Linked DNA regions of Homo sapiens: all the other regions are linked to region 1. Evidence: promoter capture Hi-C in 16 types of primary human blood cells and fetal thymus (Javierre and others, 2016). All regions are on one chromosome and are shown on one strand. The core of a region is centred on a gene start or on the middle of the fragment in contact, and the rest is flanking DNA. Distances in the headings are between cores, read along the strand shown.

Region 1 (3,949 bases), core at 730-3,229:
GCCACTAAGACGTATTTGATAAATGTCTGTTAGGTCACTGAATGTCCCTAGTGCCACATACAGATAACAGACACCAGGACAAAAAGAAAAAGAAAAAAAAAAAGGAAACACAAATCTTTTACTCGGCACATTACTATATGCCTAACCTGTCTCCATCAGGGTAAGACAGAGGCAGAGAAGGGCAAGATCAGCCCCTTCTTGCAAAAGGCCTACAGGGGGTTTGAGGAAACCAAGTCGTCACACAGCAAACATTTAGAAGACCACAGGGCAGACTGTATGGAGAGCTATGAGGATCTGACTCAGGTGGCCAAAGAGATGTGCAGGAGGAAGCCTGCGATCTGATGGGACCAGAGAAGAAGGGAGCAAGTGTTTGCCAGAGAGGCAGGCCCGACTGAGCCTTTAAGAACGAGCAGAATGGGGGTGGGAGCGGGGACAGGCAATGTAATAAGGTCACTCAAGTCCAGGCAGGGACACCCCGACACTCTCGCCCTAGATGGCCTCCTACACTGGAAGGAAGATGCCAGTCTCGCCTCGGATACCTACATGCTGAGATGGCCTACTTTTAAAAGGAATTAAAGTCCTGTTAAGAAACACTGGGGACATTTTTTTCAGACGGCTCAGGAGCCAAGTTCCCTAATTATCAGCAAAGCTCGGGGCACCCCCTTGCTGGAACCAGTCCCCTTCCACCACAACAACAAAAAAAGAAAAAAAAAGCCACCGCACCGACCTTAGCACAATTTCCTTTCTTCCTTCAAAGTTCTTTTCTGGCCGCCTCGGCTGCCGCCCACCCCTGGCAAGCCCCGGTTCACTTCAGCGGTCTCTCTGCCTGTTTCCTAATAAATTCCGTCTCATTGGTGCGGGAGGCGCGGGAGCCCGAGGGTCTGCGGCGCGGGAGCGGCCCCTCCCCGGCTCCGGTCTCCGGGCCCAACCAGGCGCCCGGGCTCCGCGTTCCACCCCCGCCTCCGCAGTCTAGGGCCGAGTCGGCGACGCCCCAGAGGAGGTCCCGGAGGGAAAGGACCCCTGTCGCCGTGCCCCGAAGAGCCTGAGCGGGTGTGCCCAGAGCCAGTCCCCGGCGGCGCGGGGGCCCGGGCGCGGGAGACCCTCCGCGGAGAACACAGCGAGGAAGAGGCTGGGGGGGGGTTCCCAGGCGGCAGCCCCTCGGAGGGACGACGGCCCCAGGGGATGACACAGCGTTTCCCCCGCACGCCCTGGCTGCGTCCCCTCAGGGCATCGGCCGGCTTGCTGCGTCAGCGAATCCTCAGCCCGAGATGGAGAGCAGGGACGGGGGACGCCGGACCGCCGCTCGCCTCGGCACTCGCCCCCTCAACCTGCTGCGCGCGCCGAGCCCGGCTTGGGGGCCAGGGCTGGGGAGTGACCGCGGGGCGCGACGCTGCCCGGCGGCACCGCCAGCAGCTCGAAAGGAACGTCAGTCCCCACCGGGGGAAAAAGTTAGAAGGCATCCCGGCCACGCCAACTTCCCATCCAGGGCCAGACTAGAACTTTGCGTCCCGGGCGGGCAGCTGCACAACCCGGAGCGACCCTGAGCAGCCGCTCGAAGCCGGGCGCTCGGGACCTTGACCGCAGCCGCCGGTGGCCAATCACAGGGCGCCGCGGGCGGGAAAGGCTAGAGGGCGCGGGCAGTCGGGGAGTGACGGCGCCAAGGGCCAATAGGAAGCCAAGATGGGAGTCCGCGCCCGCCCCGTTGACCAATGGGAAAAGGGTGACTGTGACCGAGGTTCCCCCCCTGGCGCTAGCTGCAGGCTCCGCTGGCCGCGGGTGGGAGACCCTTGGGCGGAAGGGGACTTTGGAGGGGAGTTTGCTCGTCCTCTCTTTGCCACCCGCCGGCCCGCAGACCACAGCCCGGTCCTCACCTGCTGGAAGCGGGGTTTGCCCAGTTGGAAAGGAGGTGCATCGCTCGAGGCGCTAGCGGCACTAGCCGCCGCCGCCGATGCTGTAGTCGCTGTATCCGCCATGGCCACTGACGCCCGCAATCTCCGGCCCTTTTAAAATGTCCCTCCTCGGCCCCCGCCACAGCTGCCTCTCCCGATTGGCCCTAATCAACCGCAGCGAGCGGGAGGCGCAAGGCGTTGTGGGGAGTGTAGTTTTTCGCGTCGCGGCGCTTACAACCGTAGACTGCGGAGAGTTGCGGCCGTCCGGAGAGGTCTCGGTGCCCGCTGTCCGCGTTGCAAGGTGCAAGGTCGGCAGTCCAGGAAAGGTGTTCCTGTACGACGACCACGGGCCACCCCTCGCTGCTTAGTTGCCCCCAGAAGTTAGAGTTGCTGCCGTGGGCGTCGCTCCTGGGGCCAGGCAGCGCAGAAGGGTCCCATTCAAGGGGGAACCTGGGACCAGATGGGCAAAGACTCCAGGCGGAGTAGGGTTAACCTCGGAAGGCTTTCTCCAAGGAGTTGCACTGCGGACCTTCTCGTACTTTCCTCCGTCGCCACCCTGCCCACTCGTCCTGTGCTCTCCGGCTGCCCTGACACTCAGTTCCTGGAGCATGCTGGGGCCTGCCCGCCTCCCGACCCCTGAACATTCTGTACCCGGAAGACTAAATCTTCGCCTGATGCTGGCTTTCTGGCTTTAGCCTAAACATTGCATTTCCCAGTCCATCACTCTGCTTGCACAAAATCCCACAGAGGCTCCGTGGCACCCAGCACTTCTCTTTTGCACTCACAACTACTTACTGTTCTGGACAGTCTTTCTTACTGTAAAGTTCACAGGGCAGGGGCTATGACTTTTTGATTCACTTCAGTTTTCAGAGCCAGACATAAAAGGGCTCACAGTAGAGACTCAAATAAGTGTTGGCTGTGAGTTCATCAGTGGGGGATTAAGAGCCCTGGCAGCTTTCACCTTGTCTGGCCAACCAAGGAAGATCCCTCCTGGGCCTAATTCCTGGGCAGGAGGAGAACTTGGGACTAGGGTGGGTGGGGAGGGTGTTAGGTAAGGGGGAGTATTACAGATTGTGGAGTAAGGATCAGTATGGATAATAAACACATACAGTTGTAGAATGGATTAGCTGAAGATTCCCAGCTGAATTACCTGGTCAGTGAGCCAGACTTCGGGAGCTGCCTGTTTTGCCCAAGATGACAGTAGAAATATTTGGTCTTCTAGGGAACTCCACTTTGGGTCTCATTAGTCTCGTGGTGGAGTGCAGGGTTGGCTCATGTCTGCCAGTGTTTCTGGACACTACATGAGCTGTAGCAGTCAAAGTTTTTCATCCTCTAGTAGTTGAACCACAAGAAACACTTTTCATAAAGCTAGGGGGAGATTCTAGCTAGCCACGAAGAACAATTTGTATCTTGGATTTGTATCTTATCTTAGAGATTCTATCTAGCCATGAAGAACTATTTGTATCTTGGATTTGTATCTTATCTTCCCCTGCTAGACCATGCAACTTGAGAATAGGAATCCATTTCTTACCCTCTGTATTACCAATAAATGGGCCCATCTTAGGTGCGCAATAAATGTGGGTACCCTGGGAGTCAGAAAAGACTAAGTTCAGGCTGCTGGGCAACACTGTGCTGCTGCCCCCTTATAAGGGGCAGGGACAGTGTCATCCAAGAATCCCATCACCTTGATTTAAGGTGCTTTCTCCCACAGCAGCCTCCTGTAACTGTTCATTCCAAAACAGGAACACAACAGAGCCACCTGCAGTACATGAATGTTTTATTCTTCATAAAGTGCTTAAAACATGAAGAACAAGCTCTTTATAAAGAGCCTTAACTAGGAAGACAAACAGCAAAGCAGAACCATGCCTGCTCCCTGCCCAACCCACCTGCAACTTTCCTCCAAGTGTGGCTAGGAGAAGAAACATCAACAAGGACCCTGGGCTTCGATTCAAAAACTCCTCTGAAGCCATCCATGCCCTGGGCATTAGGGAGGCCCACAAAGGTCAGGGCCAGGGCTGGGAGTGAATAAAGCCCAGAGGAATCCCCAGTAGGGGGGGTGA
Region 2 (3,949 bases), core at 927-3,426, 120 kb after region 1:
ATGTCTTCTGTGACTTATGTTGCTCATTTTTCTTTGGGGCTATCTGCCTTTATTGACTTGTAAGAACTTTTTTTTTTTTTGAGATAGAGTCTCACTCTTGTTCCCCGGGCTGGAGTGCAGTGGCGCAATCTCAGCTCACTGCAACCTCCGCCTCCTGGGTTCAAGCAATTCTCCTGTATCAGCCTTCCAAGTAACTGGGATTACAGGCACCCACCACAATGCCTGCCTAATTTTTATATTTTTAGTAGAGATGGAGTTTCGCCATGTTGGTCTTGCTGATCTTGAACTGACCTCAGGTGATCTGCCCACCTCGGCCTCTCAAAGTGCTGGTACTACAGGCATGAGCCACTGTGCCCAGCTTTTAAGAATTTTTTTATGCTAGGGAAATTTGTCTATCAACTGGCTCTTCTTTTGTGACATTTTCTCAAATTGTATTTTGTCTTTTAAAAAACACAGTGGGAAGGGGGCAAGGGGGCAAGGGGCAGGGGGCAGCTGGGCTAGGTGGCTCAAGACTATAATCCCAGCCCTTTGGGCTGAGGCAAGAGGATTGCCTGAGGCCAGGAGTTTGAGATCAGCCTGGGCAACATGGCAATGTCCCATCACTACAAAAAAACTTTTTTTTTTAATATTTATTTATTTATTTAGAAATGGAGTCTCACTCTATCACCCAGGCTGGAGTGCAGTGGTGCAATCTTGGCTCATTGCAACCTCCATCTCCTGAGTTCAAGCGATTCTCCTGCCTCAGCCTCCTGAGTAGCTGAGATTTTAGGCACCCACCACCACACCTAGCTAATTTTTGTATTTTTTGTAGAGACGGGGTTTCACCATGTTGGCCAGGCTAGTCTGGAACTCCTGACTTCAAGTGATCTGCCTACCTCGGCCTCCCAAAGTGCTGGGATTATAGACGTGAGCCACTGGGCCTGGCCAAAAATTTTTTTTTAAATACAGAGGGGTAGGAAAAAAATATGAAACATTTCAAGCCTATAGACAAGTATAGAGAATAATAAAAAGAATATCCATATACCCACCACTACTCAGTTTCATCAAACATTTTTACTATGGTTGTTTTGTGTTAAGAAATAAAACAATACAGAAAGTTGACAGCCCAAGTGACCCTCCCTAATCCTACTCCCTTCTCCCTACCCGGAGCTCATCTTTATTTTGATTGTCATGTTTATCATGCCTAAGAATGCCTTTAGACTTTTACCAAGGTATTTATGTTTTATGTTATACATGGTTAAACTTTTTTTTTTTTTTTTTTGAGACAGAGTCTCACTCTGTTGCCCAGGCTGGAGTGGAGTGGCCCGATCTCAGCTCACTGCAACCTCCACCTCCTGGGTTCAAGCAATTCTTCTGCCTCAGCCTCCCAAATAGCTGGGACTACAGATGCATGCCACCATGCCCGGCTAATTTTTGTATTTTTAGTAGAGACGGGGTTTCACCATATTGGCCAGACTGGTCTTGAACTCCTGACCTCGTGATCTGCCCACCTTGGCCTCCCAAAGTGCTGGGATAACCGCGCCTGGCCGGTTAAACCTTATTATAAATTTGTTGTGTCAACTTAGCTAAGCTGGAACTACATTTCCCGGAATTTCCTTCCCTGAATGGTTTTGGGCATGATGCTTAGGACACAGAAGTGAAGCAGCAGCCGTGTTTAGCAGTGCAGAGCAGGTGCTATGGCAGCTCACACGCATTATGGCAGATCTACTGGCTCGTTTTGCAGATGGAGGCCACAGCTGGGCGTGTAGGTCCTTCAGCTCCCACCAGACCCTCTTCTGTTTTCCCAGCTCCTGAGCCGAGTATGTGCTTAGTTTCAGAATGAAGGACACCAGACTTCCTTGCAAGTCACCTGCATTAACAAAATGAGAGGCTTGGAGGTGGTGTGAGACTGAGGCAGGTTTTAGCTCATTCTTGCCCTTCTTCCTGGGTTCCAGTTTGTCCTAATTTTCCCACTTCACATCCATCTTTCCTTCCCCAATGCCTGCCTGTGGACTTTAGTCCCAGACCCAGACAAAGAAGTAACATCCTCACAGAGAGCTATTACCAGTTCCCACAGTTGTGTAAGGTCAAATTCCCATAATAAAATCCTTTATTCTTTGGGGTTGAGTATGATGAAAAAAAAAAATCCTTTATTCTGTTAGGCACAGTGGTGTGCACCTGTAATCTCAGCTACTCAGGAGGCTGAGGCAAGAGAATCATTGAGTCCAGGAGTTCAAGATGTGCCTGGGCAACAGAGCAAGATCCCCATCTCAAAAAAAAAAATCCTTTATTCTTTGTCACTCCTAGGGGTCCTGCTTCTCCGATTGGATCATGACTAATAGAGAATCTGCTACTGGACATGGTTCCAAGAATAACAGAACCTTAGTGGGTGATGGGTTCAGTCTGGGTCATCTAGAATTGATTCTGTGACCTAAATAGATTTAAAGGCATAAATAACCCTTACCAGAGGTTGTCAGGGGTAAAGAGATCACTGGTTCTTCATGGTATGCCATAGGAAAAAAAGTTATTTATTTATTTAATTTTAATTTTAATTTTAATTTATTTATTTTTGAGACAGAGTCTGACACTCTTGTTGCCTAGGCTGGAGTGCAATGGCAAGATCTCGGCTCAGTGCAACCTTTGCCTCCTGGGTTCAAGCGATTCTCCTGCCTTAGCCTCTCAAGTAGCTGAGAATACCGGCACCCAGCCCCACGACCGGCTAATTTTTGTATTTTTAGTAGAGATGGGGTTTCACCATGTTGGCCAGGCTGGTCTCGAACTGACCTCAGGTGATCTGCCCGCCTCGGCCTCCCAAAGTGCTGGGATTACAGGTGTGAGCCACTGCACTCAGCCAAAAAAGTTATTTAAATGATCACTTGCAGACACTGTAATCAGGTGTCTATAGAAGTCAAATCTTTGATTGACCAAATGTTTGCTTGAATATAACAATTATGATGACATTGGTGAGTTGTTTCTAAGTGCCCTGAAGAATTTAGGGAAAGAATATGAGGAGTCGGGATTTTGAATTCCCATCTCAAGGTCCATGGAAAGGACCTGAAAGTTTTGTGGCTGTCCTATGATGTAAATTATGTTCCCAACCTCTCAGGTCTCTTCTGCTAAAAATTGTGTCATTGATTGGGAAGAAGAGAGACTGTAAAAATTGCGATGAAGATATATATGGCCAGGTTCCAACAAATCTGAGCCCCTAAATTCTGCTGAATCTCTTTTCACAGTAGAAGTAACTTTCCACTCTTATCTGAAAAAGTGAATCTCAGCTAGGCGCAGTGGCTCATGCCTGTAATCCCAGCATTTTGGGAGGCTGAGGCAGGAGGATTGCTTAAGCCCATGAGCTCAAGACCTGCCTGTGCAACTCTGTCTCTACAAAAAATTTAAAAAATTAGCCAATGGTTTCTTTGGTTTCAAAAAGAACTAAAAATAACAAAACCAAAAAAAAAAAAAACAGGAAAGAAAAAGAAAAATTAGCTGGGCATGAGGCAGGAGGATCCATTTAGCCCAGGAGTTCAAGGTTACAATGAGATATGATCACATCACTTCACTCCAGCCTGGGTGACAGAGCAAGACCCTGTCTCAAAAAAAAGAAGTGAATCTCCCCTTGCCTGAAGGTCTTGTAATGGCCTTCCTTGAAGTGGTGGCCCTCTGGATTTACCTCCACTGCCTCTCATTGCTGGTAGACTCAAGTTCAAACAGGCTACAGAGAATGAAGTACAAAGCCTTTCCCATGAGACAGTGGTATGATACACACCAAAACAATTTCATGATGTTGCCAATTTACATATACAGAAACCTGGGGAAATGTATGGACATGGATCCCAAAGGTGTGAGATGAGGACAGAAGAAATATAAAGTCATATTAGGCTGAATCTATTTATAAGGGCCAACTAAGCAGAGATTCCTGATTCAATGTCCTAGCTTGAGTGAGTCTAACAGTTTGTTCAGTTGGTTGATATCA
Region 3 (3,949 bases), core at 967-3,466, 100 kb after region 1:
TGATCTGCCTGCCTCAGCCTCCCAAACTGCTGGGATTACAGGTGTGAGCTACCGCGCCCGGCCGAATCTTCATAATTTGCCTGATGTGATTACTGAGTATGACGAGATCTCATAGTCCATGCACAAAGAGAGGCTTCTAGGACCCAGAACCTTGGCTTCCACACATCTCTGTCAACGTAGAAACACATGACCTGGATCACCCTCTCCTCAACCAGAAATAGGCATTAGGAGGACTTGTCTGACCAGTCTTCAGAGGTGGGTGAGAGGGCCTTGGGGTTCATCATACAGGGCAGATAAGGAGTTCCAGGACAGGCTTGGTCCCTGCCCTCAGGGAGCTCAGCATTTGGCTGGAAAGAGAAACAGGACATAGAACTAGATGTGAGAGCAAGCACGCACCAATTGTGCAAACTCACGCTCAGGCAGCGGGGCCTGAGTATTAAAAGGGGCTTGAGGTAAAGCGAGCAACCTAGAAGTGCCCACTGCAGCCAGCCGTGTCTAGGGGAAAGTATTCAGGCAGGCCTCAGGGAGAAGAGGGTGGCAGACACATGGTATTTACTCACTCAGGTATTATTCAGCACTCCATGTCTGAATAGAGCCTAGCTTTGTGTCTGAATAACACAGGTACTGCTCTTGGCAGTGACTGCAAAGCATGACGTCCCTGCCTCGCGCTGTTCCACCTAAGATATAGTCAGTACCAACCGAGTGAGTAGTGAGGATGACGGCGAGGTGATGGGGGGGCTCTGAGGCAAATCAACAGGTTATGGGAGTGACTGGAGCTATCTGAGGCCAGGGGACAGCTCTCTTAGGCAAGATGAGGGCAGGCCAAGGATGAGAGTGAGGGGAGGACGCACTCCCTCAGGTGCTAGCCCTGCATTTACAGGGCCTCGAGAGGGAGTGCCTCCTTAAGATGTGTGCCTCAGTGGAACGTCACTTGCCTCACCCTAGTGCAGCCGTGTTCAAGGGTATACAAGGGGAGGTCACTGAGGCATGAGGGTCTAGTTTGCTATGGTTTCCTCTTAGCCAGAAGCCTGATTTCTCTCCTGTGTCTCTGCTGTTGTGTTCTACATTGGCCCAGCCTCTGCCCCCAACCCCAGTGTTTGTTCCCAGGTTTCAGGGTGTCAGAGAAGGCCCCTGCTCACCAGATCCCAGAGGGCCCCGCAGCAAGCCTTGCCCCTGCACAGAGAAGTCAGGCTTTGAACTGTGGGCCTAGACTCAGGGAGGTCGACTCAGTAGGCAAATGCTCAGTTTTCCTGGCCTGGGGTGGCTATTCTGGGAGGGGGAAGGGGTGTAAGTTCAGGCTCAGATAGGAAGCTGAAAGGTGGGAGGGAAGAAACAAAACTCACCCCAGATGGCAACTGGGTCTTGTCCCTGTGAAGCTATCACCCAGTCATCAGTGGGTTTGCCCCGAAAGGCTCCATAGAACCCTATTTCTCTCCTCATCTGCACTGAGCTCTATTTTGTAGAATGGACCATGTCAATTTCCCAGCTTGAAGCACTTGGCATTCCTCTCCTGTGAGGCCCAGGTTTCTCTGGGCAGACCACAGGAAGCAGGCTCAGGCCACCGCATAAGTACGGGGTCTTGAGGGTGATTTGTGTTTGGGTGGTTGGGGATCTCCTAACCCGGGCTCCACAGTGAGCTCTCAGGGGTGTCAAGCCCAGTCGCGCTCAAGGGCCCTCTGCACTGTCTCCTTCACCGGGACAGCAGGGTCTGAGGTCCCGCCTTTCTCGGCCTGGGGCGTGCATGGCCTGGGCTCCATTGCAAGTTTTTGGACGTCCCCTTTCTCCCCCACCCCATCTTTTCCCTGGCGATCTCACTGCCCTTTCCAGGAGCACGCTCCCGCTCTGAGTCCGGAAGGACCCCGCGGGGGTCCTGACAGCCTCCCGGGCCCAGGGTGGGGATTGTGATGGCCCCTCGGGAGCTGGGTTGAGCCGGCGGCTCCTGAGCTAATCAATGGGCTGCAGCCGGCGGAAGGGGCCCGGCGGGGGGATTAGGAGCCGAGAAGGGCAATTACCCGGGTGGGCCGCTCCCCCGCTCGCCTTCGCCGCGCTGCTCAAATGCCGCATTTCGGATGCAGCGCCGCGCTCGGCCTGTTTGCTTGCAGAGCCGGGGCCCCGGGGCAGGAAGCCAACTCGCAAGTGTATCGGAGATTAGGGCCCGCGGCGGCGGGGGCGGGCGCTGGGCAAACACGCGGCGGCCGCCTCAATCCCCAGTGCTCGATTCCGCCCGCGGCGGTGCCTGCCCGGCAGTGACTCGGTGGTGGGGGAAGGGGGCGGCCCCGGCTCCCAGCGCCCGGGTGCCCTCGACGCCCACCCCGGGGGATACTCGGGGAGGCAGGCACCGGATGGGGAGCGACGGGTTTTTCCTTCGGGAGAGGCCACCCGGGCACGGTCTCCTTTCGCCCCATCCTCAGGCACACCTCGCCGCGCCGTCTTGAGGCCTGGTTCTAACCCTCCCGTCTCCCGCACCCCTAGTTCCCCGTCTGCCTAGTGGGTCGAGGGGAAGGGGAACCGGTTGGGGAAGGGAAGGAAAAAGACCCAAAGGCGGAGGTGTGAAGACTGGAGAGTGGCGGGGCCCCGCCCGGTGCGTACTTGGGGGTCAGTGCCCGCGACCGCAGGGCGGGGCGGCGGGCACGACACCCGGTGATGTCCAGGGAACTCGCGGACCTCAGCCGCAGGGCTGAGTCCTCAGCTGCTCCGGGAAGCGAGACTTCGGCAGGCATCCAGCAGCCCCAGGGTACAAGACCGAGTCTTAAACCAGATCTCAGGGCCCCCAGAGGTCGGAAGGACAGCCTAGAACTCCAGAACCAGCTCCTCTCCTGGTAGCCGCACCCCCAGCTAGAGTTCCTCTGGCCCTGCCCCTGCCCTCCCGCCCCGCAAATTCCAACTCTTTCCCGTTTCCCAGGCGGACTGCTCATTCCTACAAACAAGACTTTGCCCTGGCTTCTCCAAATTCTGCCCACCTATCAAGGCACAGCTAGCTCCCAGCCTCTTCCTCCAGGAAGTTCTCCAGTTTTCCAGCTCAGAGGGCTGTGCGCAAATTTAGCATCTGATTCCATCTCAGGGTCCCTCTGCGAAGGTCTTTAGCCTCCCCCCCACTTTTCTTTCAAAGAAAGGCGGTATGTTCAGTATGGGCTGGCAGGTTTGGTCTAGGATAGGATCCCTCATCCCTTAGAAAGACGTAGGGGCTTGAAAGCGCAGTAGGCTGGTCCCTGGGGCACCTGTGCCCAAGCGGGCCTCCTCTCTGGAGTGACGCAGGGACTCCCCACTCATGCCTCACTCTGGCTCCTGGGACACCCCCAACCCAGCCCCTGGGAGGCGAAGACGCTTTGTAACCAGCCCTCTTCTTGGAAGGTTATGAAGTCCTATGCTATTGGTGCTTCTGAACTGACCAAGCCACTTCCCCGCTCTACGCCTTCTCTTCTTCACCCTCCCCTAAGTTCCGTAGTGAGCTGCTGGGACTTCCAGAAGTGACCGGCTCTTCCTCCTGGGAGGAGGGGCGGGGAATGTTTGTTTCTTCCCCACAGTTAGGAAGCAGTGACTCCACCAGCCCGAGCGCAGCGGTAGTCAGCGCTCGACAGTGTCCCCGTTCCCCACCACCACCCATCCTTTACCGCCCCCGGGGCACAGCGCCCTTCCCCCTCTCCCCCGTTCCAGCTTCATTTCCCGTAGCTTCGAAGCTCCTAAGGAGTTAGGATCATCTTGGCGTACAGATCCCTTCGAAGCACTGATCCCTCCGCTCCTTCCCGGCACAGCCCCTTCCCGGCACGGCCCTTTCCCGCGCGATCTCCCGCTCTAGAGACCCGCGGGATGCGTCCCCGCCCGCTGCCGGGAGGTGGGGCGCCAGCATTGTACAGTCTGCGCGCGCCCCCTGCTGCTCGCCGCGAGAAATGACGGCCTACGTCCGCCGGGCCCTTCAGCTCCTCGGTTCCGGGCGCCCCCCACCGTTCAC
Region 4 (3,949 bases), core at 936-3,435, 67 kb after region 1:
TTGGTTCCTACTACCAGATCCAGCCCAGGCAGCCACTGGTCTACTTTCTCTGTATAGATTTGTCTTTTCTGTACCCTTTATATAAATGGATCATACAATATGGCCGGGCGTGGTGGCTCACGACTATAATCCCAGCACTTTGGGAGGCTGAGGTGGGCGGATCACTTGAGGTCAGGAGTTTGAGACCAGCCTGGCCAACATGGCGAAGCCCCATCTCTACAAAAAATACAAAAATTAGCTGGGTGTGGTGGCGCATGCCTGTAATCCCAGCTACTCGGGAGGTTGAGGCAGGAGAATAGCTTGAATGTGGAATGCAGAGGTTGCACTGAGCCGAGATCACGCCACTGCACTCCAGCCGGGGCAACAGAGTGAGACTCTGTCTCAAAAAAGTAAAATAAAATAAACAAAATAAACAAACAAAACATATATATAAGTAAATGGGATCAACAATATGTAGTCTTTATGTCTGGCTTTCACTTAGTATAATATGTTTTTGAGGTTCTTCTGTGTCACAGTGTATATTAGTAGTTCCTTCTTTTTCATCTTTTTTAAATTATTATTATTGTAGAGATAGGGTCTCTCTATGTTGCCCAGGTTGGTCTTGAACTCCTGGGTTCAAGGGATCTTCCCACCCCAGCATCCCAAAGTGCCGGGATTATACGCATGAGCTTCCACGCCTGACCTTTTTACTAAAAAGTAGTTCCTTTTTGGCCGAGCGCGGTGGCTCACGCCTGTAATCCCAGCACTTTGGGAGGCCGAGGCACGCAGATCACGAGGTCAGGAGATCGAGACCATCCTGGCTAACACGGTGAAACCCCGTCTCTACTAAAAATACAAAAAATTAGCCCGGCGTGGCGGCGGGCGCCTGTAGTCCCAGCTACTCGGGAGGCTGAGGCAGGAGAATGACGTGAACCCGGGAGGCGGAGCTTGCAGTGAGCCGAGGTCGCGCCACTACACTCCAGCCTGGGTGACAGCGAGACTCTGTCTCAAAAAAAAAAAAAAAATTAGCCGGGCGTGGTGGCGGGCGCCTGTAATCCCAGCCACTCAGGAGGCTGAGGCAGTAGAATTGCTTGAATCCGGGAGGCAGAGGTTGCAGTGAGCCAAGATCGCGCCACTGCACTCCAGCCTGGCGACAGAGCAAGACTCCATCTCAAAAAAAAAAAAAAAAAGCAGTTCCTTTTCATTGCTGTGTTCTGTCGTGTGAATATACCACATTACCACATTTTGTTGATCCATTAACCTGTTTATGGATATTTGGACTGTTTCCTGTTTGGGGTTATTATGAATAGTGCTGCTCTGAATATTCATGTACAAGTCTTTGTGGACATATGTTTTCATTTCTTTTGGGTAGATACCTAGGAATGGTAAGTTTTTCGTTTTAACTTTTTAAGAAACTGCCAAACTGTTCTTCGAAGTGGCTGTAACATTTTACATTCTCTTTTTCTTTTCCTTTTTTCTTTTTTTTTTTTTTTTTTTTTTTTTGAGACAGGGTCTCCCTCTGTCGCCCAGGCTGAAGTGCAGTGACACAATTTCAGCTCACTGCAACCTCTGCCACCTGGGCTCAACTGATTCTCCTGCCTCAACCTCCCGAATATCTGAGACTATCATGCGCCCCCACACCCGGCTAATTTTTTTGTATTTTTAGTAGAGACATGGTTTCACCATGTGGGCCAGGCTGGTCTCAAACTCCTGACCTCAAGTGATCCACCCACCTCAGCCTCCCAAAGTGCTGGGATTACAAGCATAAGCCACTGTGCCTAGCCCATTTTACATTCTCATCAGAAATGTATGAGGTATCTGGTTTCTCCACATCCTTACCAACACTGTATTAAATATCTTTTCCCACTGAATTGCCTTGGCCAAAAATAAGTAGACCTTACATGTGAGGTCTGAGCTCTAAATTCTAGTCCATTGGCCTGTATGTCTATCCTTATGCCAATACCACATTGTTTTGATTACTGTAGCTTTGTAGTAAGTTTTGAAATCAGAAAGTGTGAGTCCTCCAGTTTTGTTATTTTCCAAGATCATTTTCACTATTCCAGATCCTTTGCATTTCCATATTAATTTTAGAATAAGCTTGTCAATTTCAGCAAAAATGGCAACCAAGATTTTGATAGGTATTGAAAGGGGAAAACAAACAGGTTTTCTATACTCAAAAACACTTCCGAAACCAAATGTCTGGGATTTTTTTCCCCGCACATCAAGCAATTCTTCAGTTCTCTGCAAACATCAACTGGGTGTCCAATGACTCAATTCAACTCTGACAGTAGCTACCTGGAGTTAGTGTGAGACCCCAAAGCTTAAGGGCTCAGTCCCACAATACTGCCCCTGACTTCAAATGCCAATCTCAAGTAATGGGTCCCCAGGTTACCCACACTTCTGTGTGACTTAGCTACAAGTGAGGGTTTCCTACAACCACCTATTCAGATTCAATAATCTGCTGTAATGGCTCGCAGAACTCAGGGAAGCACTTACATGTACGGTTTATTATAAAGGATACAACTCAGGAACAGCCAAATGGAAGAGACAGGGTATGAGGAGGGAGGGGCACAGAGCTTCCATAGCCTTTCAGGCCTCGCACCCTCCCAGCACCTTAATGTGTTCACCAACCTGGAAGATCTCCAAACCCTGTCATTTAGGGTTTTTATGGAAGTCCCATTATGTAGGCATGATTTATTAAATCATTGACCTTCTGTGACTGACATTAATCTTCAGCCCTTCTCCCCTCCCCAGAGGTCAAAGAGATGGGGCTGAAAATTCCAACCCTCTAATTACAAGGTTGGTTCCTCTGTCAACCAGCCCCCATCCTCCAAGAGTCACCTCATTAGCATAAACCCAGGTATGGTTGAAAGGGGCTTATTATGAATAACCAAAGGTGTTCCTCTCACCCCTATCACTCAGGGGAATCACAAGACTTTTAGCAGCTCTGTGCTAGGAACCCGGGGAAGAGACCAAATATATATTTCTTGTTATGTCACAGGATTGCATTAAATTTGCAGATCCATTTGGGCAATATTACAATATTGCTATCTTAACAATAATAGTTTATCTGTTTTGTTTTGTTTTTAGAGATGGGTCTTGCTATGTTGCCCAGGCTGGCTCAAGCAATCCTCCTGCCTTGGCCTCTCTAAGTGCTGAGATTACAGGCGACAACAGTAGTTTGTTGTTGTTTCTATATACAGGATCACGTCATCTGTGGGAAAAAAAGACAGTTTTACTTCTTTTCCAATGTTGATGCCTTTATTCTTATTTTTTGGCCTTATCACACTGACTTGAATCTCCAGGACAATGTTGATTGAAAGTGGCAAGAGCTGACATTCTTGCCTTGTTCCTGATCTCAAGGAGAAACATTCAGTCTTGCATCATTATATGTAATGTTGATGGTAGGTTTCAGTTAGATATGCTTTATCAAGTTAAGAGAGCTCCCTTTTATTCCAAGTTCAAGGGTTTTTTTTTAACCATCAATGGATGTTGGATTTTGTCAAATGTTTTTTCTGCATCTGTTGAGATCATATGATTTTGTCCTTTATTTTATTAATACAGTGATTCATCTTAATTGGTTTTCAGATGTTAACTCAACCTTGCTTTCCTGGGATAAAGCCCACTTGGTCATGGTATACGCTTCTATGTATGTGTTGCTGGGTTTTATTTGCTAATTTTGTGCTAAGGATTTTTACATCTGTGTTCAAAAAGGATGTTGGTCTGTAGCTTTCTTTTCATATGATATCTTTGTCTTGAATCAGGGTAATACTGGCCTCACAGAATGAGTTCGGAAGTGTACTTTCTTCCCCTATTTTCTGAAATAATTTGTGAAAGATTGGTATTATGTGTTTTTAAATTATTTGATAGAATTCACTAGTAAAGTGTTCTGTGACTGGGTTTTTCTTTGTGGGGAGATTTTAAGTACTAATCCCATTATTTACTTGCTATAGGCCTATTCAGACTTTAT

What was found. The method cuts DNA at HindIII sites, captures the fragments that hold promoters and counts their contacts. A CHiCAGO score of 5 or more calls a contact.
Region 2: a contact is called between a fragment that was not itself captured here and the fragment with the promoter of SFXN5 in region 1, in 10 of 17 cell types (activated CD4 T cells, naive CD8 T cells, naive CD4 T cells and 7 more). The highest score is 8.2, in activated CD4 T cells.
Region 3: a contact is called between a fragment that was not itself captured here and the fragment with the promoter of SFXN5 in region 1, in 2 of 17 cell types (naive B cells and non-activated CD4 T cells). The highest score is 5.4, in naive B cells.
Region 4: a contact is called between a fragment that was not itself captured here and the fragment with the promoter of SFXN5 in region 1, in 1 of 17 cell types (total CD8 T cells). The highest score is 5.1, in total CD8 T cells.

Annotation. Positions count from the first base shown.
Region 1 is chr2:73,069,733-73,073,681 of GRCh38, forward strand. SFXN5 (sideroflexin 5) reads right to left here and starts at 1,980. Exons shown (of 14, transcript NM_144579.3): 1 at 1,872-1,980. The coding sequence starts at 1,973. It overlaps RAB11FIP5 (RAB11 family interacting protein 5), which reads right to left. Exons shown (of 6, transcript NM_001371272.1): 6 at 3,650-3,949. RefSeq lists a silencer at 919-1,708 and enhancers at 1,849-1,898, 2,099-2,578. The HindIII fragment of the contact is 14,604 bases long and covers 1-3,949 here.
Region 2 is chr2:73,194,062-73,198,010 of GRCh38, forward strand. No RefSeq gene overlaps it. Among named protein-coding and RNA genes, the nearest start is that of NOTO, 6.5 kb to the right of the region's middle. RefSeq lists a silencer at 739-908. The HindIII fragment of the contact is 7,497 bases long and covers 1-3,949 here.
Region 3 is chr2:73,173,679-73,177,627 of GRCh38, forward strand. No RefSeq gene overlaps it. Among named protein-coding and RNA genes, the nearest start is that of NOTO, 27 kb to the right of the region's middle. RefSeq lists silencers at 2,182-2,401, 3,707-3,786 and enhancers at 2,537-3,210, 3,211-3,884. The HindIII fragment of the contact is 7,933 bases long and covers 1-3,949 here.
Region 4 is chr2:73,136,311-73,140,259 of GRCh38, forward strand. No RefSeq gene overlaps it. Among named protein-coding and RNA genes, the nearest start is that of RAB11FIP5, 25 kb to the left of the region's middle. The HindIII fragment of the contact is 223 bases long and covers 2,075-2,297 here.